7 separate regions of the Homo sapiens genome follow, and all the other regions are linked to region 5. The links are contacts of gene promoters, found by promoter capture Hi-C in blood cells and fetal thymus (Javierre and others, 2016). All regions are on one chromosome and are shown on one strand. Each heading gives the region's core, a stretch centred on a gene start or on the middle of the fragment in contact. The rest is flanking DNA. Distances are from core to core; before and after follow the strand shown. Region 1 has its middle 11 kb from the start of ZNF648. Region 2 overlaps LOC105371642 (a long non-coding RNA gene). Region 3 holds the start of ARPC5 (actin related protein 2/3 complex subunit 5). Region 4 has its middle 83 kb from the start of ZNF648. Region 5 holds the start of NPL (N-acetylneuraminate pyruvate lyase). Region 6 has its middle 110 kb from the start of ZNF648. Region 7 has its middle 27 kb from the start of ZNF648.

The links. Contacts are between HindIII fragments. The CHiCAGO score rates a contact against its expected background, and 5 or more counts as called.
Region 1: a fragment that was not itself captured here is called in contact with the fragment with the promoter of NPL in region 5 in 3 of 17 cell types (megakaryocytes, M0 macrophages and fetal thymus); the score reaches 5.9 in megakaryocytes.
Region 2: a contact is called between a fragment that was not itself captured here and the fragment with the promoter of NPL in region 5, in 2 of 17 cell types (M2 macrophages and M0 macrophages). The highest score is 7.0, in M2 macrophages.
Region 3: a contact is called between the fragment with the promoter of ARPC5 here and the fragment with the promoter of NPL in region 5, in 3 of 17 cell types (neutrophils, naive CD8 T cells and fetal thymus). The highest score is 5.5, in neutrophils.
Region 4: a contact is called between a fragment that was not itself captured here and the fragment with the promoter of NPL in region 5, in 5 of 17 cell types (M1 macrophages, M0 macrophages, M2 macrophages and 2 more). The highest score is 19.3, in M1 macrophages.
Region 6: a contact is called between a fragment that was not itself captured here and the fragment with the promoter of NPL in region 5, in 5 of 17 cell types (M1 macrophages, M2 macrophages, M0 macrophages and 2 more). The highest score is 9.1, in M1 macrophages.
Region 7: a contact is called between a fragment that was not itself captured here and the fragment with the promoter of NPL in region 5, in 11 of 17 cell types (M2 macrophages, erythroblasts, megakaryocytes and 8 more). The highest score is 12.2, in M2 macrophages.

What each region holds. Positions count from the first base shown.
Region 1 is chr1:182,070,347-182,074,160 of GRCh38, forward strand. No RefSeq gene overlaps it. Among named protein-coding and RNA genes, the nearest start is that of ZNF648, 11 kb to the left of the region's middle. The HindIII fragment of the contact is 1,575 bases long and covers 756-2,330 here.
Region 2 is chr1:182,115,425-182,119,383 of GRCh38, forward strand. LOC105371642 (a long non-coding RNA gene) reads left to right here. Exons shown (of 3, transcript XR_922341.3): 3 at 2,087-3,224. Among named protein-coding and RNA genes, the nearest start is that of ZNF648, 56 kb to the left of the region's middle. The HindIII fragment of the contact is 766 bases long and covers 1,891-2,656 here.
Region 3 is chr1:183,633,890-183,637,978 of GRCh38, forward strand. ARPC5 (actin related protein 2/3 complex subunit 5) reads right to left here and starts at 1,894. Exons shown (of 4, transcript NM_005717.4): 1 at 1,628-1,894. The coding sequence starts at 1,770. It also overlaps a transcript of RGL1 not described here. RefSeq lists enhancers at 1,090-1,590, 1,588-1,867 and silencers at 1,178-1,396, 1,348-1,407, 1,488-1,537, 2,018-2,177. The HindIII fragment of the contact is 3,712 bases long and covers 925-4,089 here.
Region 4 is chr1:182,142,755-182,146,425 of GRCh38, forward strand. No RefSeq gene overlaps it. Among named protein-coding and RNA genes, the nearest start is that of ZNF648, 83 kb to the left of the region's middle. RefSeq lists a silencer at 620-796 and enhancers at 805-1,473, 1,474-2,141. The HindIII fragment of the contact is 2,379 bases long and covers 1,119-3,497 here.
Region 5 is chr1:182,787,916-182,791,949 of GRCh38, forward strand. NPL (N-acetylneuraminate pyruvate lyase) reads left to right here and starts at 1,858. Exons shown (of 13, transcript NM_030769.3): 1 at 1,858-1,890. RefSeq lists an enhancer at 1,511-2,011. The HindIII fragment of the contact is 6,627 bases long and covers 715-4,034 here.
Region 6 is chr1:182,174,404-182,178,172 of GRCh38, forward strand. No RefSeq gene overlaps it. Among named protein-coding and RNA genes, the nearest start is that of ZNF648, 110 kb to the left of the region's middle. The HindIII fragment of the contact is 6,123 bases long and covers 1-3,769 here.
Region 7 is chr1:182,086,908-182,090,887 of GRCh38, forward strand. No RefSeq gene overlaps it. Among named protein-coding and RNA genes, the nearest start is that of ZNF648, 27 kb to the left of the region's middle. The HindIII fragment of the contact is 453 bases long and covers 1,976-2,428 here.

The DNA of each region.
Region 1 (3,814 bases), core at 293-2,792, 720 kb before region 5:
AGATGGCAAGCTAGCATTCTAAAGTATCATCTTACATTTTATAACTTACCATAGAGTTTTTAAAGGGATATGTGGTATAGGGGACATGTGGGAGTGGTACAGGGTACTGGACTTGTGTGTCTTGTTCCGTTGGCTCTCTTGGTTAATTGCTCATCAGGAGGTCTGGTTGGTATTAGCTTGATTTTGGCTCAATTGTTCACAACTCCCCCTAAGTGGGAGGAGTGGGGCACCTGGATTGTTTCAATATTAGCCTCTGGGATTTCTTAGGTAAGAGCATAATTAGATAAGCATGCACTGGTGAGGGGATTGTCTAGAGAGGGAAGGAATGAAGGGGTAAGAGGGAAGGGAAGGAAGAAAAGGAAATGGGTGATTTTTAAAACAGAGGTTCCTGGTTATAACTGCACAGGGCCCTGTTACCTGTGGCTCCAGCTGCAGGTTTGCTCTCACACAACCTATATGGGCAGTACTGGGGATAGACCTAAGTTCTCGCTTTGCCAAGTCCCTTTTCCTGGACCCTGGCAGGCCATTCTCCTGTTGACACATCTTCAACTGTAAAGGTTGCCCCTTAGTTAGTTAGCACCCAGCTATAGTTTCATCCCAGTCCCAGTGACACTGTTTCAGCACCTTCAGTGGACCTGGGGGCTTCCTGAGCCTGTTCAGCTCTGTGTTTCTGGGCTACACACCCACATCGGCTCCTTGGGTGGTTTACCCTCACCCATTAGGATTCTTCCTCTTAAGAGGTGAAGACATCCCCAAGCTTCAGAACAGCCTTACTGTAGCCATCTGCTTAGTATAGGTTGAGCACCACTAACCTCAAAATCCAAAGTCTGAAATGCTCCAAAATCCAAAACTTTCAGAACACTGACATGATGCCAAAAGTGAAAAATTCTACACCTGACCTCATGTGACAGGTCATAGCCAAAATGCAGGTGCACAACACACAGTTTATTCAGAATGCCTCCTCATCCTAAGGGACCCACCTCCTGGTCCCCCACTGCTTTGGATGTTTCTCCTCACCTAAAAAAAAAAAAATACAGCGTTCAATGACCTTTTAATCAAAACACAGCATTGTAGCTGAAAGCCTGTTGTTTGTTGCTGCTGTTGTCTGACAGCTGATACAGGTATTCTGGTGATGCTCCTGTGCTGCTTATTTACCCAGACACATTATTTTTTCATTGTATTAATAATGTATCTTTTTTTACTGTTTAAGTACTTATGTGTAAATAAGTATAGGAAAATGATTGCTTATTGGTAGCATCCACAGTTAGAGTCAGGAATGATGATGATGCCAAACAACCATGTTTGGTTTGTCCACATGGGTGACTGAGATAGTGACACCTGTGCTTTCTAATGGCTCAATGTATGCAAACTTTATTTCATACACAAAATTATTTAAAATATCATATAAAATTAACCTTGGAATATGTATATAAGGTGTATATGAAACATAAATGAATTTTGTGTTTAGACTTGGGTCTCATCCCCAAGATATCTCATTATGTATATGCATATATTCCAAAATATGAAATCCATAACATTGCTGATTCCAAGTATTTTGGATAAGGGATACTCAACTTATATAATGAGAAAAGGCAGGAGTATGGAGTACAACTTTGGAGTCAGAAGGGCTTGCGTTCAAATCCCTGCTCTGCCACTTGCTAGTTGTATGACCTTGATGAAGTTCTCTGGCTTGTCTCAGGCCTGTTTGTGTAGGAGGGGCAATGGGGTTAACAGCGCCTCTCTTATGGAACTTCTGTATGTGTTATGCAGACAAACATTTCATCATCACCGTGCACAGTGCAAGAGCTCAGTGCATAACAGCTGTGTTGTTCTCAAAAAGTAGAAAACATGGAGAGACTGGTAGCTGAGGAAAAAAATGAGAAAAGAACTGCAGTCCTTTTGTAGTCCTAGTTTCTCTGTTCAGGACTCAGCATTTGATGATGTTTACGGGTCTCTTCAAACATGGCTTCCAAACTGAACATGATGTTTTGGGTGCAGCTGGTCTGACCATTATGGAGCAAAGAAGACTTGGCTCTTCCTTATTTCTGGTTCTCCCTTGGTATCCCAAAAACTTTGGCCTTTCTGGTGGGCACAACCACCTAACCCCTTCAGTGTTAAGAAACATCCCAAAGCATTTTGTACATAAGCAATGGTGATGTCACATCTCTTCTATGCTATTTTTGGGTAGCTGGACTTCTCTTGTGAGTTGAATTTTGATTTGGGGGTACAAGATGTTATATTAGGGACCAACATCTCTGAAGGGAAGGGGGATCAACAGAATTGGGTAGCGGAAGATGAGGCCCAACAAAGCCTCAGCCAACCTGGCAGAAAGCTTTGGAGCAAGTTTCCTTGGGCAGAGTGCCCAGCATTGGGCTGAAGAGGCCAGCTCTTTCAATATCCAGGTCACCAGATACAGGAGGCAGTGGAAAGGCTATGATCTCGGACAAGGCAGCTCTCTGCAGTTGAGGCAGACTCTGAAGGAGCTGACAGCTAAAGGTTGTCTGCTGACTACATTCCCCACAGCTGCACAGCAAGTGCTTCTCTGGAGGAAGATCTGGGCAGCACATCTTCATGTGTGTACCTCTGTACCCAGGTGTAGCACCTACAATTCCCACTTCAGCCCAGCTGCAGAGGCCAGTGCTGTCCTAGGTAAGAGAGGCCTTTTCTCTCTTACTGCTTCTTTCCCATACAGGCCAGCTTCTAGAAACCCTTATCTACACATGCTCTCTCCACTTTTTCTCATTCCATTTACTCTTCAAGCCTGTTACACTCTAGCTGCTACCCTCCATCTAATTGAAATTGCTCTAGTCAAGGTCGTTGACCTCCATTTAGGAAAAGCCAAAATACACATTTTTTGTCCCTTACTGAAACTCTCAGCCTCAGTAAACATGGTTGGCCTCACCCTCCTTCCCCACTTTCCTTTCCTGGCTTCCTCATATGTCTCTTTTCCACCTCTTTCTGTCTTTAAATGTCGGCATTCTTCAGAATTTGGCCCTAAGTGCTCCATTCCTCTCCACTCCTCTTCTATCTCTTCTGTTACCTCTCTTTTCCTCTTCTCTCTTCTCTTCTTTAATATTTTCTTCCCCTTCCCTTTATCTCCCCTTTTTCCCTCTCTTCTCTGATCCTATTCCTTTCTCTCCTCTCTTCTTCTCTTCTGTTTTCTCCATATGTTCTCTCTAAGTGATTTTATTCATGCTCTTGGCTTGAAATCTCACCTATGTTCTAAAACCCACCAAAAATATATCTCTGAATTCCAGATCTCTATAATTCAACTGCCTAGTTTTACTCATTAACATCATAAACATAACCATTCAAAACTGAATCCCCCAATCTACTCCTCTCTGAGATGTTACCATCTCAATAAATGACACCATCAACAATTGGCTTGGTTAAGCCAAAATCCTGGGAGTTACTCTTTTACCCTGATTTTTTTCACCACCTTGTCTTTTGGATCAGCTTGTCCTATTGATTTAATCTCCAAACTGTATACTGAAGTAATTTACTTCTCTTCACCACCATTGCCACTTCTCTAGCACAAGCCATTATCATCTACTTCCTGGAATACTGAAGTTGCCTTGTTATTGGTCTTCATGTGAGCATTTTTGCTCCCCTGCAATCCATTCTCCACATGACAACCACAGCAATCTTTTTGTAAGTTATGAATTTGTTAAATATATATTGAGCACCTGCTATGAGCTGGATGCTGCTCAAGGCCTGGGGATATAGCAGGAAAAGAGAGAGGGGAGAGAGAGAGAGAGAGAAAGAGAGAGAGAGAGAAAAAAGAAGAAGGAGGAGGAGGGTGGGGAGCAGAAGA
Region 2 (3,959 bases), core at 1,024-3,523, 670 kb before region 5:
GACCCACAGGATAATGAGGGAAGGGAATTAGGTGGTATAAAATGTTTCCTAAATGATAAATGGACGCCAATGCCATCCAGCCTGGAAATACATGTACATGTAAAATGGACCTGGGTTTGCCAGCTCAGCCTCATACAGGAAGACTCTATCCTTCTGAGCACCAAGCCTACAACATGAGTAAATGCCGGTTGCTTAGGAATACAGAGGTTAAATGCTCTGGGTCAGACAGATGGGCCTGGATCCTAATTTCAAAACTTAGTAGCTGTGTGACCTCAAAGGAGTTGCTTCACTTTTGCTGCCTCCACTGTATTGTCATAGTGGTCACAATATTTAGGAAGGTGGGCTAGGACAGACCAAGCATCTCTCCTGGGAGTGCTGAAGGAAGTGGACACCAGGGCGACCCCCTCTCTGGGGCCATTCTTAGCCAAGAGTCCCTGCCCACAGCACTGAATACCCTCATGAGACCAGTGGCCATTTTTTGAGGAGAATCCCCATTAACCTGGGAAAACTTCACAACAGACCAACATCATTTCCTGCATTGGGGCTTGGAAACCACTGCATGAAATAATTTATCTGTTACTGTTTAATCCTATACTGGCTTTAGTTATATTATTTATAGAGACACCTTTAAAGTTTTCTCCTTTATGCATCAGGTGTAGCTAGGCAACGTTCGCTACATCTACGTGCCTCCCCTAACTGTTTCCACTTCAGCATTTGAGGGAAGAATCAAAAGCCCTTGGGCTTGGAGATGCTCAGAGAATAGGCACGAGGCAATATTTTCTGAGCTCTCACCACATCCCGGGTACCATGCTAGACTTGTGTACCTATGGTACTCCCAACAGAGTGAGGCAGAGAGGTGATGCAGTGGGTTAGAGCCTAAGAATGGAGACTGGAAACCTATGGGAGCATGTGCTAACCAGGGTGGTGGTGACCAGAGAAGGCTTTCCAGAGGAAGAGATAGCCAAGCTGAGTCTTGATGAATAGCCAGGTGCAGGTGTGGTGGTGCACCCAGGCAGAAGGAGTACAGCAAGAAAGGACTTGGCCAGCCCAGAGAGCCTGCCTGTCTGATGTGTTGCAGTAGATCCACAGAGCTGCAGAATTGGAAGAGGTGGTGAGGGAGGAGGGGGAGAATAGGAAGGCAGGAGCCAGGTCTCCATAACGCTCCTAATTCCCTCTGGGACATCATCTGTCCCTCAACAATGCCTCTAATAGAGATATCTGCTGCTCTAAACATTTACTGATGCCTTAATCTTTCAAGCAGAATGGTAAAGAAGAAAAAGCCTGTGGGTACCTCCTCGCATGTGTTGTTTGTTTATTGTGAGACAAGGTCTAACTCTGTCACCCAGGCTGGAGTGCAGTGGCACCATCACGGCTCACTGCAGCCTTGACCTCCTGAACTCAAGCAATCCTCCTACCTCAGCCTCCTGAGTAGCTGGGACTACAGGCATGCACCACCACACCCAGCTAATTTTTGTATTTTTTGTGGAGATGGGGTCTTACCATGTTGCCCAGGCTGGGATTCCTCACATGTTTTCACATAAGTAGTCCCTATACTTGCCTTGTTCTTTCCAATTGAAGAGAATTCTTCAGGCAATTAATTTTATGCTTCCACAACGATGTCTCTTCTCCCCACTGCTCTTTGAAGCTGATCTTTGTTGGAAAAATTATTTTTCATCAAATTGATCTAGATTACTCATTGACTAGCTTGTTGACCATAGTTGCTTCTCAAAAAAAGCTCACCTGTTAAGCTTAACAATAGGTACCAGTATTGAACTAGTATTATATGCCTGGCATGATGCTGGGTGCTTCTGAAACATTTTCATTCAATACGCATAGCAAATTAATGAGGAAGACACTATGATCATTTCCCCTTACAGATGAGAAAAATAAAGCTTGATAAAATAACAGCTTATACGTGACAGAACTGGATTTTAATCTATTTGATTCCAAAATCACCACTCTTAGCCAATTCACTCCACTGCTATTATAAATTGTTTTTGAGAACAACTTAAAAGAAAGACATGTGGCTGTTGCTGCATGATGGACAACCAAGTTTTTTGACCAGAAAACATTTTGCCCCTTGCAGAAAGAACTCGGGAAAGCAGCAGGCAGTCTGGAATGGCAATGGGAAGATCCAAAGGCAGCAAAGGCTTCTCTCCGCCATGTGAAAGGCCTGAGTTTAGATACTTCAGGGAAGTTTTAATGCCAACCTTCTGTAAAATCCCCATTCTCTAATGTATGGCTTTAATTAACAATCATGTATCAATATTTGTTAATCATAACAAATGTACCATACTCCTGTGAGATGTTATCAACAGGAAAAATTGAAGGAGAGGTGCATGGAGCTCTGTACTATCCTTGCAATTTTTCTGTAAATCTAAAACTGTTGTAAAAAATAAAGTCAGGGGAGGAGCAAAAAGAAAAAACGTTTATTTTTTATTGAAAAGAAAAACCCTCATTCTCCACAGCCACATCCATATTTCAGAATTGTTCTTAGAAACTTCCAGAAACAATTCATTTACTGTATATAACATTATGGCCTAGATTAAACTGATCAGTAATTATTAATGCTTAACGTTAGTGCGGAAGCTCAAAAATTATATACTAGAGTGTTTGTGTAACTCTAAATCTTAAGATACATGTCAGTGATACCCGAAGCTTCTTTTTTTTTTTATTTTATAGAGAAAACATAATTGACAAAATGGTCACATACTTTTTAAACTTTGTTTTCGACATCTTTGGGAATTGTAACCATTGAACCCCATGTTCCTGATTCAAGCTCCTCTGTGCATCTCTTAAGAGTTGTTGAATTGAAGTCATAATGCCTGGGATGGAAGAAAAGGCTTCCAAGGGGCTGATCTCACAAATCAGCGGATAGGCTGACCAGTTACTCTGTTTGTTCTCAGGCATGTGAAAGCGTTCTCTGGTCCTAAACATCCTGTTCTAGTTGTGCCCCATTTGTTGAGGGGTTGAGGGTGGCATTGATGCAGTCTCCATGCTTTAACTAGGCTGCTATTACCTATTACCTGCCTGCCTCAGCTTCCAACTACCACCCAGGTTAAGAGGGCATGTCTGATGAAGAAACCACCTCCCTTAGTCAAGATGATTCAACTTCATTCTACTCTCATCCCCTTTCTCCAGGTGGAAATCTGAGGGTCTGAGGAGGAGACAGAGAGAGAAAGGGGACGCAAAAAGGCTCAATTCTCAGGCTTCTGTCCCAACAACATCAGTATTATCTTCATAAATTTAAAAAATATATAGCTTTATATTATATATAAAGTCATATATATAACTATATATAACTATAACTATATATATAACTATATATATAACTATATATATAACTATATATATAACTATATATATAACTATATATATATAAAACAATGTAGAAAGACTGGTCAACGTGAGTTTCATTATTATCCAGAAAGCCAGCAGGAGTTGGATGAGCTCATTCACAGAGACCACTGGGTTTTAGGAGCAGGGATTTTTATCCCTCTGGACTGGGAGAGTTGGGAAAAATGAAAGGATCCAAGCTTTACCAAATTCAGACTCACATTTTAGTTCCCAGCCAAAGGTCATGTTGAAGCACAGTGAGAAGCAGTTTCCCTGAGGAAGGGGGTTGGACTTGGAGGTTGGTTCCCCTATTTAGATTCAGACAATGGGAGGGAAGTTTATTACTTTTACAGCATGGTGACAATGCAATGCTTGGTAAAAAACAGTTCTCAGGACATTTAGAATTTGTTCTCTTTCCCTGCCATGTGCTTATGGGATGCTCCCATAAATCCCTTCTCTTATCTGGATACAGGGACCTATTGACTAGTCCTGCTAGGGATTGGGATCTGGAAAAAGCAATTTTTTTCTTTGGTTTGTGCATTTTTAAAATGCCTGTGCAAGGACTAAGAACCTGCTATTCATATTCCCAGGAAAAGATAACTGTATCAATTACTAGATACGGC
Region 3 (4,089 bases), core at 644-3,143, 850 kb after region 5:
CCTAAAAGGAAAACCACAGAGTTCACTTGTTCCTCCAACTCTAGTACCCCACCACTAGGGCTGTCTTTCCTGGCTGTATGTAACGGTAAGAAGAGACAGTATCTTTATATTTTAAGATGAACTGATCAAAAAGCAGATCCACTGATATGGATACAGCAGTACCATTTAAAAGTCACCACAAATTACCTAAAATACACTGGGGTTTCATAAAACACCATCTATCCATCACAAATAATGTTTTTAGGAAGCATGTTCACCATTTATTTTCTAAAGAAAAAGTTCTTACACAAAATCTCTGGTTGACAAGCTGTTATTTTCAAGGCTGCAGGGATTTCTAGAGAAGCATGCCTGATGTAGATTAGCTCATTTTTTATAACTCCAAGCACTTAAGTATTTAAATAATGCAAAAGAGCAACAGCTAATTAATTGTGAAAGTTGTGGCAAAGCACTATCTATATATTGATAAATGTCTAATGCTCTATTTAGGTGCCTTTAAAAAAGGATATTGTTGCCATTAAATATTTTCACTCTCATATTTCCCCACTATAACAGGACATTGTTGAGAGTCTTCCTTATGAATACACCCAAGAATTAGAAATGCATACAAATTCAGTGTCTGAGATTTTCTAAAACTACAGCTTCGGTTTTTTTGCAACATTTACATTTTTCTAAAAAAGATGTAATGCAAATGCGAAGCCAAAGTTATGAATATTCAAATATGCAAAAACAGAAACCGGGAACTGACTGCCATATTTTAACTAAAATGGAAACAATTTTAGGATTACAAAAATGATTCTGCTTTATACGAATGACTCATCTTCTATCTTATTCATTGGGGTTTATTTTAAATATTTCCAAGGATTCTCCACACGCATTCCCCGTTGTTTTTTCTATTGTCCTTTTCTTAGCAGGTAAAAGGCTCCAAGCTTCCTTCTAGGAGTTTTGTATTTTTTGTATTCATTCCCCTCCCCCAGTTAACAAATTCTGTACAATGTATATTTTGCCAAATCCCCTTCTTCTTCTTCTTTTTTTTTTTTTTTTAAAAAGGCCAATGGGCTGAAAGCACAGGGACCCTCAATTTTCGAACAGTCCCATCTCCCCCCGCCCCCCGGTAAGGAATAAACTACCTTAACGCTACCAATAACAAAAACACAACAAAAAACAAAACCACTAAGGAAAGATGCAGGTTCCCCACAATCAGAAATTTCTGGAGCTAATGTGACCCCAGGAAATCAGAGTTCTAGGAAGAAAAACTAAGGCGCTCGGCACCAGCCTTCCCCACCAGCCGGGGCCGCCTTCCCCAGCGCCGCGAGGGCGCGGCCGGCGGGACCAGTTCCCGAGGCAGGCAGGCACTCGGGTGCAACCTGAGGAATCTGGGGGCGTGGAAGGCGCGCGGGGGAGGGCAGGCTTCCAAGAGTGGGACCCTCGCGTCTCCTGCCGACTGGGTAGGAAACGGGGGCTTCCCCCTTGCCCTCTCAGAGCGGGCGATCCCAAAGAGACAGGTTAAGCCGCAGGTTGAGAGGGCAGCTCCGCGCCGGTGCCCCGCGGATCCTGCAGGCTCCCGGGTCCCAGGAGAAGGGCGGGCTGGGCTGGGCTGGGGTGGGGAGGGCGGTGAATGCAAGGATATTGCCGCAGGCAGGAGTCCACCTCGCCCTCGTCGGGCCCGGCCTGGCCGTCGCCCCCATCTTCTTCGTCCACGAACTTGTTCTCGTCATATTCATCCACGTCCACCTTCCGGAAGCGGGCCGACGACACTGTGTTCTTCGACATCCCAATCCCGACCAGCGGCAAAGGCCTCTTCTTGGCGCTGCCTCTACCTCAGCAAGCCCAGCCCAGCAACCCACTACCCGGCGCCTGATTCACTTCCCTCTTCCGCTCTGAGGCGTCGCCGACTGCCGCGGCTCGGACCGTTCTGGGCCTGCGCGCTAGCCCCGTTTCTTCCTCCTCAGGTTCGCGCTCCCTTGGCGCCTCCCACGCTGCCCCTGCTCTTCCACGGAGAGCGCGCGCGAGGGAAGGAGCGCGCAGGACACAGCGCGCAGGCGCGGGCTCTCCGCAGGCAAGGGGCGGGGCTGGGCGAAGGAGGCGGGGGCGAGAGGGAGGGCCAAAAGCTGGACCGCGGGCAGAGGTAAGAAGCGATTGGTCGTCCGATTGCGTCACGTGATTCTCGGTGGGGGGGTTCCCATAGAAACGCTTTTCTGCGGTCCAGTCTAGGGGGTCTCAGATTGGCGGGGATGGGCAGCAGCGGCAGGTGGCCTTGGCTTTTGCTGCAGCCGTCAACGACCTATCATCGGGGTCCTGCGTAAGGTCCGGCTGGCTGGGACTTGGCTGTGGGTGGGATGGACTGGCTGCCGGACCGAGTGCCCTGCAGTTGGTAGGAGTATGAGGCAGAGTGATGCACACCCGGGCGCCCAGCATCGTTCTAATTGCCGGAGACATTGCCTCAGACTGTGCGCTGCTAGAGGCTGCGTTCCTGAGCAGGAAGCCCGTTTCCTGGGATTGGAACTACCCTTCTTGGCCAGCGGGAAGTCCCCAAGGACGGAGTCGAAAGGTCAAATCTTATCTGTCAGTGCTGTGTGACAGCATCGCAACGGGATCTGCAGAACCTGAACTCGGTATCAAATCTATTGGGAGGGAGGGGAACGTGTCCGGGCAGGCGCTGGGGTCGGGTGGCAAAACTGGGGTGAATTTGTAGAATTTGGGAAAGGGTCATTGACATCTTAAAATAGGTGGTCGTTTGGAGCAAGAATGCTCGAAAGGGGTGAGGGTAGGTTAGGCTCTCTAGTGCTGGGGGAAAACAAAATGTGGAAGGATTGGTGGAAACCAGACCTTTAAGATTTATATTATGATTTGAGATTTATATGATTCCATCTAGGCCAGATTTAAAAAAATATTTGACATCCCCATTTCTGGAATGTAGGAGATAAAGGCACTAAGACGAAGGAAATGGTAGTTGTGCTGTGTGTATTACACTGAAGAACAAATATTTGCAGGATAAAATTAATTTGGACATTTGGCTGGACACTGCTCGGTATGGGTCCAGTTTAGTTGGACCTCGAGCAGAAGACTGGCTGTTGCCCTGTTGTGTACCACAATCTTTGGTTTCCAGTGCTGTGTTGAAAAGAGCACTAGGCTTAGAATCAGAAAACTCAGGCTTAAGTGTTGACTCTTCCACTCATAATGTTTGAACGAGACATGTCACTTAAAATTCTGTCTCAGATTCCTCATCACTGAAATGGAGCTAATAATGTGCACTTTACAAGATTGTTCTTAGGATTATATATCACGAAAGTGTTTCCAAGCTCTAAAATTCTACATAAATGTAAAATGCATGTTGCTTGTACCATTGGTTTTGGGACTAGTCTTATAAATTTCTTAATGATATATGGTGTTTTATCTCCTTCCTAGAAGAGATGGAAAGATTCTGAAGGGCAGAAACAGTTTTTCTTTTGTATCTTCCTTCCATATGACAAAAAGCTAAGCATGCAGAAGGGACTCGATACATGCTTGATGAATGAATGAAATGTGAAAGACCGTACAGTTTGAGAATCATACTGAGAATAATAAATCAGAAGAGGGAGAGAGATCTCAAAATTAAATATTTGTTGGATATATACATGTAAATACATATGTCCAGTCTTCTTTAAGTTCAAAAAAATACATATATAATGTGTGTATATTTATCTATGCAGTATATTATATATAAATAGAGAGTGGGAGAGAGACCTCGAGAATGGAATACATCCCTTTTTCTTGGGAAGAAGCAATGTGGTGTTTTTCTGTTCCCAATTAAACCACTCTTCTATAAGTATATCATTTAGGTGATAGAAGTAACATTGTTTAAATTAACATTCAAGTTATGAACACACACTGGTAAAAATTCTCTTAGGAATGCCTTAAGACAGCAAAGGAAAAATTTTTACCTGTTGGCAATATTTATTTTAAAAAGCCATATACCAAAGTATAAAATCATTACTATGGTGAATGGCGTTATATAACTTAGAATAAAGATTTTACAATTTTTTTTCAGTTTCAGTCTTTGCTAACTTTAGTAGATGCTAATCAGTATACTTTAGCTGTTAAAGGTGATTG
Region 4 (3,671 bases), core at 1,058-3,557, 640 kb before region 5:
TCATGGGTGGAATTCAGACACCAGGACTGGGCATCCTGGTCAAAACCAGGGGCAAACGCTCTCACCTGCATTCTTGGGCGGGAGGCAGGGGTCCCAGGCGGCCAAGAAACTCACCCCATAACTGAACAGAGGTGGCATGCCCACACTCCGTCCCTGGACAAGGGAAGCTCAAATTCAAATAGTATACAACATTGTGCTTCTCACATAGTAAAACCAGTCTTTCAGAAATGTGTCCTGAATTCCTAAGGGGAGGAAGGGAGAAAGATCCTCCAGAAAATAAAAAAAAAAATTCCAATAAAACGAAGTTGGTCCACTGGCAATATAGTACAAAACAAAGATCTTGGTAAGAAAACATCTCCCTGATTTTGGGGTTCCCATGAAAATAACACAGGTCCCCATGAAAATAACGTAGATGAAGCAGCAGAGAACTGACAAAGGCTGTGGAAACATGGAAAGAGTAATGATAACGCAGAAATCAGAGGTGAAGTAAAAGCACAAGTGAACCTTCACAAAGCTGGGCTAAGTGATATTAACGTAGCTGCTATTAACCAGAAATTCCCAGTCAAGTCAACCAGGCTTGGCAGTGGTGGCCACCAGAGGGCGCTAGAGTAGAGTCCGTGGGAGAACTTCAGCGGTGGCCCTGCAGGTTTGAGAGGCACCTTCCCGGAGGATGGATTTGAAGGGCTGAGGGTCCAGCAGTTCTGTGGGTTGGCGGCTCACAGGAGAAAGCATGAAGACATACTTCCATCCTCACACCCCCGAAGGTCCTTGCCTGGACTGGAAGCTAAAGAAGCGCATGCTACATTGTTTTCCTAGTGACAAAAATCCCAGCTGGCCTCTGGTTAACTTTTCAAACAAATGGCACTGATGTGATATTGGGCGAACTCTAGGTGTCACTGACCTAATAAAAAGAAAAAAGCTATTTGCTTCCCATTTTCCGATGCAGTGAGGATTTCACAGTGATCTCAAACACAGTGAAATACATAAAAAGAGCCTAGCTTAATGGGGGCACCCAGCAAATGCCCAATAAACATCTGTTCCCTTTCCTCAATAAACCCCATTTGCCTCTCAGCCTGCAGCCTCCCACACTGGTGGACCCACGTGCCCCTCAGAAGTGAAGCTTTTGGCCCCTGTAAAGCAGCAGCCCCTCTGGCCAGAGAGTCTTTTGTCCCAGAGCCTTTGTTGTTCCAGATTTCTCACTGTGAGGCCTCAGCAGCTGCCAGGGGGCCACCCCAGGAGCTGGAATCAGAGCTCAGAAAGACAGCAGTCCTTCTTCTGCTCCTTTCTGGGCCCGCATGCCCCAGCCCCACACCCAGCCTCAACCACACTGCCCTGCACACCCTCACCGTGCCCCCACTTCTCCACAATGTGTTTCTAATCTGCCCAGGAACAGTCACCAGCTCACTTTTCCTGCCTGGTCTCATTAGCGTGGCCTCTGGGCCTGGGCCTGGGTGTGTAGCCCAGAGGCTTGCACGGAGGTGATCAGATTGCAGGGAACAGTATGTTTCCCTCCCTGCCTCTGCTTGTTTTCTTCAGGGGCCAGGGCCAGCCAGCTGAGCTGTCTTCCTCTTCCCCGGCTTCTCATCCTCCCTCACACATGGTCTGACTTCAGTGGGTGGGGGGATGAGCAGAGGGTGTGACACACACGAGTGTGCATGACTGGCATGTAGGGAGTGTGAGTTGTGGGCAGGTTTCTTAAGGGGAGGCAAGGCTGCTACTACTCCGGGAAACAGGCCTGGGAGCCAGGGGGAGTGGAGGAGGAAGGCCAAGCTGGGGATTTGTACAGACCAGTTCTGGCCAGATCTCTTAAAATGTTTTGTTCTTGCATTGCTGCTGCTGCTGCTGTTGGTTTTTTTCCCCCCTTCCCTGTGCTGAGCTGTCATTTCTTAGTCCAGCCAGGCCCTTATGAACTTCTGGTTCCTCTAAACGGTAAACACCCTGGTTTTCCAGACTACACCATAGCTCTCTTTTCTTATTTGCCTTCAAAATACACTTTAAAAAAAAAAAAAAGAAAGTAGAAAATGGCAATATCAGTGATAAGGGCAGGGCATGCACTGAAAAAGAACAGTTCAATCTAACATTTATCGAGCCTGCCACCTTCCTCAGCTTTATTCTCTCCTTTCTTGTTCTTGGTAACAGCAGATAAGAAATCAGCTGTGGGTCAATACGTGAAAAATGTTCACTCTTTTAGAGTAGTATTAAAATAAATATTTTCAATGACAACATTAAGCAGTTAATAATTAAAGCATGTGCATATGTATACTTAAAAGGGGCTGGAGTCCCTTCTGTCCAAATCAAATTTTCCACAAGCGTTGGTAACAAGGTGGCTGGGAATGTTGAGATGTGAGACTGGCCTTCCAAGGATCAGGAGGGCAGCTGGTGGTGGGTCTGCTCTCTCTCATCACTCTCAGTGGCGACATCACCGTCCATCCTCCCCAGTACTAAGATCTGCTTCAGGAAAGAGCCTGAAACCAGCCACATGTATCTCATGTTGGTGAAGGAAAATCACAGTAGTGGTCCTCAGTGGGACTCTAAAATGACTTCACATCAGCCTCATTTGGTAAATGAGGAAACTGAGGCTCCAAGAGGTGATGTGTGTCACCCAAGTTTCCATAGCAGAGCTAGAAAAAGACCTTGTTCCTGGGGTCCTGGGAGAGGGTCCTACTGCCCAGCTCTGACGGATGAAAGGAAGGCTTTTTTCCATGGTACCAGCTGTTGCTATGGGCAACCCTAGAGATCACTCTGTGGGGTGTGGGATCCTTCGGGAGAGCTTGTGCTTCCATTTGGAGAGACTTCACAAAGAGGGTGTGCCATGGGGACTAACATAAAAAATCAAGAGTGGGGAGACAGAAAGAGGAAGGTCAGCAGAACTGTCCAGATTTCTACAATGCCCGCCCTTCTTAGGCAAGCTAAGCCATCTACGTGTTGGGGGCATGGTTGCTGGCCCTCCGGAAACCCCTCGGATCTGAAGAGCAGACAAGAGCATCTGTCATCTCACAGAGATGCCTTGGGATTTGAATACTTGTTTTGTCTTTGGCCTGGAGTTTTACTCTTAGAGCTCCTTGCCCAGATATTCCATGGTAACCCACTGTCATATTCTGCATAGTCCTCTGAGATAAATATGGAGAAATTATGGAATGCAGGGGAAAGAATTCTGAACTTCAAATGAGAAGAGCTGGGTTTGTGTCTGGCTTCACTCCTTACTTGTGTCTAATCAAAAGCAAATCAAAATTGAAAGTAAGAGCTAAATTTTTGTTAAGGTAGGATTTTAAGGCAATTGTTAAGTCAAAGATGTATCTTAAGCACCACATTCAAAACCACGTATTCTCGTACATCACTCTTACTGTATTTTCTAGACTCTAAGAAGCCATTGACTAAGACACAGCAGCGAGTTAATAACAGCTTTTAGGGGGAAAGGAGAAGAAAAATGTTTCTCTGTTAAACATACACATCAATTGTAAGACACAGGATCTCTGAAATGTCAGGTGTGAAGATCAAGCTTCTTGGAATGAAAGAAACAGTGGTATTGTTAACATTTTGAAGGAAGACTGGCTCAGGGAAGGGCAAAAGACATTTTTGAACACACGGCTACTTATCGGGTTAGTAGAATGTTCCCCAAATTCTCCTTTGTAATACCTACATCCTCTTTGGCTGTTCCCCTCCTGGTCCTC
Region 5 (4,034 bases), core at 608-3,107:
CTCCTGCCTCTTCACACACACACACACACACACACACACACACACCACCCCCTTCAGCCCAGATTAGAGCTCAGTGTTCCTGTAATATCTCTGTACAGTCTATCACTGCATTTACCATATTTTAAAACAACGTCTCCCCAACACTTCACAGTATAGGCTCTGAGTTTCATAACGGCACAGAGTGGATACTGTAAGAATGCAGTGAGACTCTCCCTACTCCATGCTCCTTTCTTCCATCTTTTGTTCCACAGATGTCAGCCCTACATCAGTCTGCAGGCTGCTCCTGTCTGCTCCAAATCCCTCCCCCAGTAAGTTTCTTGCACATCTAATCCCATCTTAGCATCTGCTTCTTGGTAGACACTAACAAATTATTATAAGGAATTACTTTGCACTACCATATTTATACAAAAAGTAGTTAGTTCATGCATTTAGAATATTGGTTTGTTGGTTGACAATGTTAAGCCTAATGACCTATACCTTTTGGGTACTGACATACTTAATTTTGCACTTATTAAACTGTGACTTTCCAAAAAAAAAAAAAACTTTCATTGTACCATTAGGATATAATATTCTTGTTAATATTACAAAAACCAAACCAAAACAAAAACCATGCTGCAGCCTTAGGAGAACTTGCTTCATGTAACTAAGGGTTTTTCTTTTTCTTTTCTTTTTGTATTTTTTTTTCCTGTAGGATAACATAGTGTTAAAAGCACAAGCTTCTGGACTACTTGAAATCAAACCACAGCTTAACCAGCTCTATGGCTTTTGGCAAATTACTTCAACTCTTTAAACCTGTTTCTGATCTGTAAAATGGAATGATCCTTGCTCATCTGTAATATATACATTTATAAAACAGGACCCACCAATGGGATTATTTTATGAATTAAATGTTAAAACAGCTAGAACGGTGCAGGCTGAGTAAGCACTGAACACAGTACTTATTAGCTATTATCTCTGGTGCTCTGTGCAACGAAAGAACTATTAGAATACATTTAAAAGCACTTTGCAAACTAGAAAGCCCTTTGAACAATTTAGTTTCTCTAAATGTAATAATAAGCATCAGCCATCGCCTTTTATGGAAAATTGAGGTGGAATCACATCAGCAAGAGAAAACTGAGGACTTGTCTCTGGCTCTGTTCCTGATTTATTCACACAGTACATGATCCTAGAATAAGACTCCTGATACTCCTGAAAGTAGAGGCGGTTGGGTTAAAAATAATTTTCCCTTTCAAAACTCTTTCAAATGTTCTCCAAAAGAAGCCAGGAAAGCTCCCGTATGAGTAGATAATTCACTTTAAAATTCGCTCATCTCTCTTTAACACGAGAGTCTGCAGGGCTGGTGCAGCGGCGTCAACCCGAAGAGACCTGAACGCCGATGGGCAGTTGGGATTCTCCGTACGCCTCGGAAACAGCAGCCCAAACCTCACAACGCAGAACCACGAGATAGTGGGGATTGCAGAGCCCTGCGCAAGAGAAGGAAAATTAAGACGCAGCGGAGCCCAGGAGGTGCCCGCACGCGGGAAGGACTGGCGTGCAGACGAGGCAGGGGGAGGTTTGCACTCGGCGTGGCGCGGGTGAGCCGCGTGCTCTCGGGCACCCGGCCGCCAGTTCGGATGCTTCCGATCCTCGGGGAGCCGGGGCGCTGCGCCGGAGTCACTTCAGCCCATGTTGTTCAGGTGACACCCGGGGAAGAGCAGACTCCAGTGTGCAAAACGTTTCGGGGTTTCCGGGCCAGCGGTTCCGGGCGCGCCTCGCGGGCGGCGGCGCAGAACTACAACCCCCAGGCTCCCTGGCGTGGCGGCACGTGGGCCCGAGCCGGGCGGCCGCGGATATAAAGCGCGGCGGCGGCTGCCGGGCGGAGCGGCTGCACGGACAAGAGCGGAGGCCTGGGTGAGCGCGGCCCGCGACGGCACGGGCTAGGACAGACGGACGCAGACGGCCCGACGACCTGGGCGTTCGGGCGGAGGGGCGCTGGGGCCTGACTCGCGGGTGGGTGAGACGTTGACGGACCCGGAGGAAAGAGGGAAGGCAGATACGCTGGGAAACGGATCTGGGGAAGGTGTGAATGCGAAAAGTGTAGGGACAGACGGGGGCAGAAGAACTTACTCCCCCGGATTGTTTGCAGACAGCATATCTGCCGGGTCTCCAAAGGTCCTTTCCTCAAAATAGAGTTAGCAATTGAGCAGAAGAGAGCTTAAAGTTAAACCTGATACATCCCCCCTTCACTTGAGGAGAAATTGGTGGTTTTCTGCTTTTTTAAAAATCCCTATTTGTATCTCCTCTTCTCCGAGTACCTGTCCCTCAAGATATTCTCTGCCCAGAGGTACATTCTGCCCTCACTTTCTGTCTCTTAAAAAAACAACTTTGCCATTTAAAAAAGAATTTGACTTAGGCAGCTTTAATTCTTTGCACTGAGTGTTCTTATCTGTGGATGGAGGTATAAGATTTCAAGAGTAATACCCCCTCCCAATGTTTCAGTAATAATCTAAATTCACATTAAGCCTTAGGCTGGAGAACATTTGAGCTATTCGCTTTAGCTACGAGCTCTGAAAACTTCAAAGCATAACATTCCCAAGTTTATCTAAAACTTGAATCTTAAAAATAATGATAATTATCTGTTATGCTTCAAAGCATAACATTCCCAAGTTTATTAAAAACTTGAATCTTAAAAATACTGATCATTCTCTGTTAAAGTCTTTTGTTGTTGTTGTTGTTGTTGTTGTTGTTGTTGTTGTTGTTGTTTTTGAGACGGAGTCTCGCTCTTGTCGCCCAGGCCGGACTGCAGTGGCGCTATCTCGGCTCACTGCAAGCTCCACCTCCCAGGTTCACGCCATTCTCCTGCCTCAGCCTCCCGAGTAGCTGGGACTACAGGCTCCCGCCACCACGCCCGGCTAATTTTGTATTTTTAGTAGAGACGGGGTTTGGCCATGTTGGCCAGGCTGGTCTCGAACTCCTGACCTCAGGTGATCCGCCCACCTCGGCCTCCCAAAGTGCTGGGATTACAGGCTTGAGCCACCGCGCCCGGCCAAAGTCGTTTTTATCCCATTTCTTCCTGTAGGCGTTTCAAAGTTTGCAAAGGCAGCAAACTTTTACGTAGTGTAGTTATCTGTGCAAAGAAATTTTCCAAGCTGCCATTGCCCCCAGATGGCAGACAGTCTAGGAGAGGAGCCAAAACCACCCTGCTTAATAACTCTGATGTAAGGTTTTTAATGAAAAGCCACTGTTTGGGGGAATTCTGAGGTTTAAGAAATTATTTTCGGCTGGGGTATCAGGAAATCCCCTGGTTTTTAAAATGAGAGGTTTTTTGGTTTTTGTTTGTTTTTGTTTTTAAGCTATACCTGCTGGAATGGATAAAGTGAGCTTTAAAAGTTGATCAGACCGAAGAGATTGAAGTGAGAGAACCACAGGAACAAAGGCAAGCAGACAGACAGTGAAAGGTAGATAGGAGGAACAGCAAACAGTTTGTTCAGCTGGGCAAGTATAGTGCAGGCACGAAGATTTCAATAGAGACCCAGACCCCAGGGAGCTGGTTCTTTAGCCTACTGGCATTTTCTAAACAGGACAAAGACAAGACCAGAAATGCTGGTGTTACTGGAAGATTAATCTGACAGCTGGTGTGGATTGAAGAAGAGAAGAGGGATTAGGACAGTGATTCCTAACCCCTATCCTACACTCCCAACGGCCCCTTGTTTTGAATTTTTGAACTAATCAAACTACATTTGTGGTAATTAGTTTTATTTCTTTCCATTAAAGACATATAAAACTGCCAATTTGAGCTTCTGATGATTCTAAGAACATCAGTGTTACCGTCCTTAGTATCAAATAAATGCAGGCAAAAGCACAAGACTACGGAGTTTTATTTAGCCTGAACAGCCTAGTAGTGTTGGATTTAGGAGGTGTTTAATGCTGACTCAAGCTCTCAGGACTCTTATCACTTGAACCTTCTTGGGCCCTGTGGACCTGGGGTTTTGCCTATTTGTCTAGATAAGAGGTAACGAAGGGAAAAATTATAAAGGCGAAAGGAGGAATAGCAG
Region 6 (3,769 bases), core at 125-2,624, 610 kb before region 5:
GCCATCCTACTCCCATCAGGGAAGCAGTACTCAGAGAGTCATCCCAGAGCCAGGGCTGGCTGTGTCAGGCTACGATGACAGTTCAGATTGGGAGGTGAAATTTGGCCAACAACAGGGAAGGTGTGATAGGACGTGATAATTATTAGAACATGACATTTTGAGAATAGGATCCAAGTCTGTTTAATATATCTTCAGCACCAACACAATGACTTGGCTTAGTAATAGCTCCAGAATGATTAAGTGAATGAATGCCATGTTCTTGCTTTCTGCAAACACTCTTTAAAAAGCATCTCCTTCATGTCTCTCTTCTGTATATCAGGAATCAGGAATTTGATGAGGCATACAGCTCATCAGTCTGGAAGCATTCTGCTAATTACAAAAGCCCAGGATGCTTGTGTGGAAAAAGCACAGGTTAGAGAGGGGAGAGTAGAAAAGGGTTTTTCCAGAGCCTTTTCTTCTTTTTTTTTTTTTTTTTTTTGACGGAGTCTCACTCTGTGGCCAGGCAGTAGGGCAATCTCGGCTCACTGCAAACTCTGCCTCCCGGGTTCAAGCAATTCTCCTGCCTCAGCCTCCTGAGTATCTGGGATTACAGGCACACACCACGCCCAGCTAATTTTTGTATTTTTAGTAGAGATGGAGTTTCACCATGTTGGCCAGGATGGTCTCGATCTCTTGACCTCATGATCCGCCAGCCTTGGCCTCCCAAAGTGCTGGGATTACAGGCATGAGCCACTGTGCCTGGCCTTATCCTTTTTTTTTCTTTTTGAGACAAGTTCTCACTGTCACCTAGGCTGGAGTACAGTGGTGTGATCAAGGCTCACTGCAGACTGGACCTTCCAGACTCAAGTGATCCTCTCGCCTCAGCCTCCCTAGTAGCTGGGATTACAGGCATGCACTATCATGCTGGGCTAATTTTTTAATTTTTAATAGAGACAGGGCCTCACCATGTTGCCCAGGCTGGTCTCAAACTCCTGGGCTCAAGCAATCCTCCCACCTTGGCTTCCCAAAGTGCTGGGATTACAGATGTGAGTCACCACGCCCAGCCCTCCAGAGCCTTTTCAAATAGGCTAGAGCCCACTTCCCTGTATGCTTAGTTTCAGGTTTCTATGTCATCCTCCCAACATGTTGAAATCTGTGAGAACAAGGATCAACAGTATACGACAATGGTTTAATGGGCTCTGCAGTTGTAAAACCCTGGATGGTTCTCCACTGACAAAGAGGAAGTCACTTAACCACTTTGACTTTTAATCCATTATCCATAAAATGAAGGTGGTAATAGTATCTGTCTCATGAGGTTGCTAGGAAGATTAATTTATATACGATGCACATAAAGTACTTGGCCCGGCCCCTGGGACAGAATAAGGTCTGAATAAATGAGAGCTGTTGTAATTAATTCAAGGCATAGCATGTGGCATTTCATGGACATTTTTCAATTGCTTGAGTAAAACAGACCCAGCTTGGAGAAAGCAGAACAAATCAGAATGAGACAGTCCATCAGGATTCCTTCCAAATTTGTGATCACATTGCAGCTCATCCCTTTGTTTTGGCTCAGTCATTTCTCCAATTGTGAGCAACTTAGGGCTCTTCACAATAGGGAGAATGGGCATATTCACAGGGGCAAATTACAGTTGGAGGAAGCCTCCTGGAGGAATGGTTTTCAGGGGACTTAGGTCCTGGCTAAGTGCCTTACAGCACTTGAAGATTGTTGAGGAGCCATTCTCCACTCCCCCTAGTTTTATGAAGGTATACTTGACAAAACTATATATACTTGCAGTGTACATTATGATGTTTTGATATAAGTATACATATTGAAATTAAATAATTAACATAGCAATCATCTCACACATTTATCAATTTTTGTGGTAAGAACACTTGAAATCTACTGTTAGCAATTTTCAAGTAGTCAATACGTTATTATTAATTATAGTTATCATACTGTAAAAGAGATCTCCAGATGTTATTCATCCTGTCTAACTGAAACTTTGTACCATTTGGCCAAGAGTTCCCCATTCCTGCCCCCAACCTCCCAGCCCCTGGTAACCACCATTCTATTCTCTTCTTCTATGAGTTCAAAAAAAAAGTTTTTTTTTTGAGATGCAGTCTCGGTGCGATCCCAGCTCACTGCAACCTCTGCTTCCCAGATTCAAGCGATTCCCCTGCCTCAGCCTCCTGAGTAGCTGGGATTACAGGCATGCACCACCACGTCTAGCTAATTTTTTGTATTTTTAGTAGAGATGGGGGTTTCACCATGTTGGCCAGGCTGGTCTCGACCTCCTGACCTCAAGTGATCCACCTGCCTTGGCCTCCCAAAGTGCTGGGATTACAGGCATGAGCCACCATGTCCCGCCTGTGAGTTCAAATTTTTGAGAGTCCACATATGAGTGAAATTATGTGATATTAGTCTTTCTGTGCCTGTTACTTCACTTAGCATAACATCCCCCAGGTTCATACATGTTGTTGCAAATGACAGGATTTCATTTTTCAAGGCTGAATAGTATTCCATTGTGTATATATACTACATGTTCTTTATCCATTCATCTGTTGATGGGCACTTAAGTTGCTTACGCACCTTAGCTATTGTAGATAATGCTGCAAGAAATATGGGAGTGCAGATATCTCTTTGAGATCCAAATTCCATAGAGTTTTTTTTTTTAACCTCAATTGAGAGCAAAGTAAGAGGAAATGGAGCCTACTGGCCCCTGAAGAACTTCTTGCTAGACAGGAAGAAATTCCTGGAAGTTATTTAGCCTCATCAGAGGGGGCAGTTAATATCCTTCTCAGAACAGAAAAATATTGAACTTTATTGAGGTATAATTAATATACAACAAAATGCACTCCTTTGTTGGATGGAGTTCAATTAGTTTTGACAAATGAATACACTCATGTAACTACTACTGCAATCAAGATTTAGCACATTTTCATCACCCCAAGAATTTCTTCTTTCCTGTCTACAGTCCACTTGGGTCCCGAGTGATTCTGTTATTACATGTTAATTTTGCTTATTCTAGAATTTTATATGATGGAATCACACAATATGTACTCTCTCTTCTGTGTTTGGTGGTGTTTTGCTCACTCACGTTGTTGCATATACCCATTGTTTGTTCATTTTTATTAGAGTATAATATAATATTGTATCTTATAGCTTTTTAAAATCTGTTCACCTGTAGATGGACATTTTAGTTGTTTTTCAGGTTGTGGACATGATAAAGTTGCATGTGTGTGCAAGTCTTTGTGTGGATATATGTGTTCCTTTCTCTTGGGTAAATACCTAGCAGTGAAATTGCTGGGTGGTTAGGTAAGAAACTTTTAAGAAATTGGCAAATAGCTTTTAAAAATAGCTGTATCATTTTATGTTCCCACCAGCAGTGTGAGTTCCAGGTATTCTACATCTGTATTAATCAAAGTTCTCCAAAGAAACAGAACCAATGGGAGATTCTATGTATGTATATAATTTATTATGGGAATTGGCTCACACAATTACAGAGGGCAAGAAGTTGTCTGCAAGCTGGAGAACCAAGAAAGCCAGTAGTGAGTCAGGAGTACTACTCTTGTCCAAAGATAGGTGAAGATGGGTGTCCCAGTTTAAACAGAGAGTGTGAATTTGCCCTTATTTATTTCTTTTGCTCTATTTGAGTCCTCAATGGATGAAACAATGCCTGCCCACATTGAAGGGTGTTTTTCTTCTTTCTACCAATTCAAGTGTTAATCTCTTCTGGAAATATCCTCACAGACATACCAGAAAAAGTTATACCAGCTATCTTGGCATCCC
Region 7 (3,980 bases), core at 952-3,451, 700 kb before region 5:
CAGAGCTGCGCTATTTTGAGTGGAATGAAGGTGGTCTGTGGGTTGGAAAGGCCAGTCATGATCCCCAGTCCATTTTGTGGGTGCCCCTGGTTGATCCCTAAGACAACTTCCTGGAGTGTGTGCATTGACCACAGATGTCAGGGCCTGGGCTTCTCTCCTGAACCCAGTTCACACCAAAAAAGGACATGAAGGACAAGGACCAAGAGAGGGCTGGAGGCAGAAGTGCTCTCAGAGCGGACACAGGGTCCCACCCCAATCCTTGTGCCTGAAGCAGAGTTGCAGTGTGGCCGCTACTGGCACCAGTACAGCAAAGCAACACCCTAAAATCAAAGCGGGAACAGCAGGAGATGGAGCCCGTGTCTTTGAGGACCTCAGAGGCAGAACTTCTGGTTGGGGCCTGAGGACTTTTGCACTCTCCTGAGCACCCTTGCCTTTTCTTGCCACCGCAAGGGAGATGTTATCTTCAGACTCTGGGGCTATTGCAAGCTGCTGCTCTTCCATGAAAAGCTTGGGGCCTTTGCTCAGTGAAGTCAGGATGTTTTGAGATTACAGGGAGGGTGGAGGAAACAGGAGGGCCCACAGGGTGGGTGAAAAACCTCATTCTCCGCCCTCTCAGCTCCACCCTGCATGCACTACCAGCATTCTCAAGGCTTCCTTCTCAGTTTGTGTAAGACAAGGAAAGCCTGAACCAGGGATTCCCCTCTCAGCCACCCCAGCTGCAGCCCCTGAGGGTGGGTGTGCATGCAAGGGACAGGGTGGGGAGCCACAAGCTCATCTTCCACCCCTCCACAGCTCATCTGGCCTTGCCTCTATTGCTTGGGGAAAATGGCACCTTGAGGACAGAGTATGCCTTGCTTTCTCCTAGGAGAATGTTCTCTTTCTGTACTCGCTGATGGAGCTCTAGCTAAAAAAAGTATATTTCCCTGCCTTTTCTTTCTTCCTCCTTGAGGGCCTCTCTGTAGACTTTATCAGGCCACACTGATGAGCTCAGAACAGAAAAGTTATGGCTATATGGGAGCAGGCTCCTCCCTCATAGCTCCTGGTCAGATCTGGACATCTGGGGCAGCCGCGGATCAGAGCCCCAGGCTGGCCCTGGACCAGACCCCTGCTCCTCTGTCCCAGGCTGGCCCACTGCCTCCATGAGTCACTAAGGTAACCAGGAGGGCAACCACAGGGGAAAACAACCACCCTTATTGCCCCAGGTGGCAGTCCCAGCCCAGGGCAAAACTGGGGCATTACTTCAACTGTACCAAAGTCAGGCCTGTGCCTGGGGCTGCAGGAGGCGGCTGCAAAGAGGCTGGGCGGGGCAGCAGGAAGCCCTGTGGAACTTGCGTGTGTCCTGACTTGCCATTTCTGATGTCAGCACCTTCAGATGCCCTTTCATGGGGTAGGAACTGGGAAGGGCAGAGGTAGTAACATCTGAACAAAGCTGGGTGAATTCCCACGGAAGACGGAGCATCGAGTCGTCAATGCCTTTTGGTAAACAAGTCGCAGCTCTTCCGTCTTGGCTCATCCTCATGGGCACATCCCAGTGGTGTTCCCTGCCCACCTCTGCACCCACATTTTAAGGTGTGTAATCTGCCTCCAGCTCTGTCCTCCCCACCTCAGAGCCTTAGGATCTCTGGCTCTGACATTCAGTGCAATGTGTGCCGCCTGGTAGGCGCTCAGCGTTTTGAGTGAAAGAATAAATGTTTAGGTTTCCAGCAGCACCCCGTGCTGCTGGGATCACAGAGTGGCTGCTAAACCCAGGGTGTTGATTTGAGTGCCCAATGGGTGCTCCTCCGAAAGTAAGGGAAGTGACCCTGTGGAGCTGTGGCAGAGGTCGCATCCCCTGAGTTGCTGACCTTGCAGAGAAGCACAGGGTGCTCCTGCCTGTGGGTTGGGTGAAGCACCGTGTATATCTTTATCTCTGCTTGGGGGCCTGTTTCCTCCCCTTGACTTGTGCCTCCTCAATAGCAAGCCCGAGTCTCATTTAAGCTTTGAATTCTAGCACAGAGCTGGGCCCATCCATTAGATGAAGTGTGTTTACAAGTCTGTTCCGGAGTCGGTGGTGCTCCTGCTGCTTCACCTGGGCTCAGGACACCGAATACAAGATGCGGTTTCAGGATCTGGAATCCGCAGAGCCAGTGGGCTCCATAACCTGGGTCTGGGTGCCATGGCTAGCATCGTTGGCTGTAAGGAAGCTGTTCTGGCAGTTCTTGATGGCCGCTTCCCTAGCATCTCTGTGACAGGAGCCCTGAGAGAGGTCCTCTTCCTCCCTTTCCTTAACATCTGCCCTAGAGCTCGGCTGAGCTTCCCTGGGCCCTTGCAGCCCTGGTAGGCCTTTAGCACACAGAGTCAATATTTGTAAGATGCTCTGATGAGTGGCAGGAAGGGAATATACATTCTGTTTTATAGAAGGCAAGAGAAATATCAGAGGGAAAAAGTAAGCTTGCTCTTCATATTTGACCCCCACAGTGCCTGGAATGTGTGAGACGGATCCTGCCCTTTCCTTCACCAAGCCACCTAGCAGAACCCATGCCATCCAGGGCATCTGCGAGAGAAACACCTCTCCCAGCCTCCCCTGAGCAGCCCACTAGCGCTGTGGATTCCAGATCCTGAAACTGCATCTTGCACTCGGTGTCCTGAGCCCAGCTGAAGTGGCAGGAGCACCACTGACTCCAGAACAGACTTGTAAAGAAAGAAGGTATCTCCCAAGTCAGCCACAGAGGCTCATGGTTTCCTGCTCCATCTAGTCCTGGGTGTTTGCTTAAATGGGCACTGGCTGACATGACTGAAACCTCATGCATCCATCACACATTCACCCTCAACAAAGACACAGCCCCTCCTTTAAGGCCTGTGCTCCCTGTACATACACAGTGCCCTGCAGCACAGAGAAACCACATGAATGGCCTTCTTGGCTCAAGGAGTCAGGGAGTAGGGGCCTGCTGAGCATGACCATGTCCAGAGAGTGGGGACCCCAAGAACTGTAACAGCCCATTGGACAGATGTGGGCAGGAATGGGGACAAAATCACCCACAGTCTCAGACCCCAAATGAGGTGTGAATATGAAATCCATGAAAACCTCATGTGGAGGCCAAAAGACTAACTAGATTCCCATCTCATCTCTCCAGGCCAGAAGCCTATTATCCAATCCTTCCTCTCATTGCAAGCCCCAGAAGTAACAGCAATTACAAAATAAAGAAAAATAAGAACTTGTCAGCTCCAATTTTGGGGTTTGAATGTGGTCTCTGGGGAATGATCAGACGGTGGAAGCAGCTGTGGGCAGGGACTCCTCATGCAGCGATGACTACTCACTAACCCAGGGCATGCATTCGAGGTAAACCCTGTGGGATTCAGGGCTTGTCCTGCATCTCACAGTTGAGCGGGCAAGAGCCACCTCTGCCCAAGTGAGGCTTTGTCCCGCACGTCATCTGTATGACCTTGCTCTAGGCTGCTCAGGGACGGTAAGATTTTTGTTCTTGAGGACTGGAGCAGGTGATGGCCCAAGTGCAATGAGTTCTGTGGGCATCAATGCTCAAAATAAACACTAATGCACTACAGTCCCTCCCACTTGAGAGGCCCCTACCTGTCCCACAATATCTCATCCACCTAGAATTGAATCCTGGGTCAGATCCATACTCAACCAACTCATTTAAGTGCTACCAAGGGCTGACAGTGGTAATAGGCTTTCCCTATTACCTATAAGGGGCATATGTTCCTTTTATAGATGCAGAAATTAGAAGTCAGATTGCTTAAGTGACTTGCCCAAGACCACAAAGGTAACGGAGACACAGGTCTTTTGATTTCTAATTCAGTGTTTTGACACCACACAAAGGCCACCTCCTTCTTTGAAACCTGGAACGGTGCTAGTTGCCCTACAGAATCCCAGCATGGCAACCGGCTGGAAGAGGAGAGGCAAGGTGCAATTAGCATTCACTGTGTGTCAGGCTTGAAGCAAGCCTTTTCCTGCCTTCTGTTGGTGAGTGTTAATCAGCCCT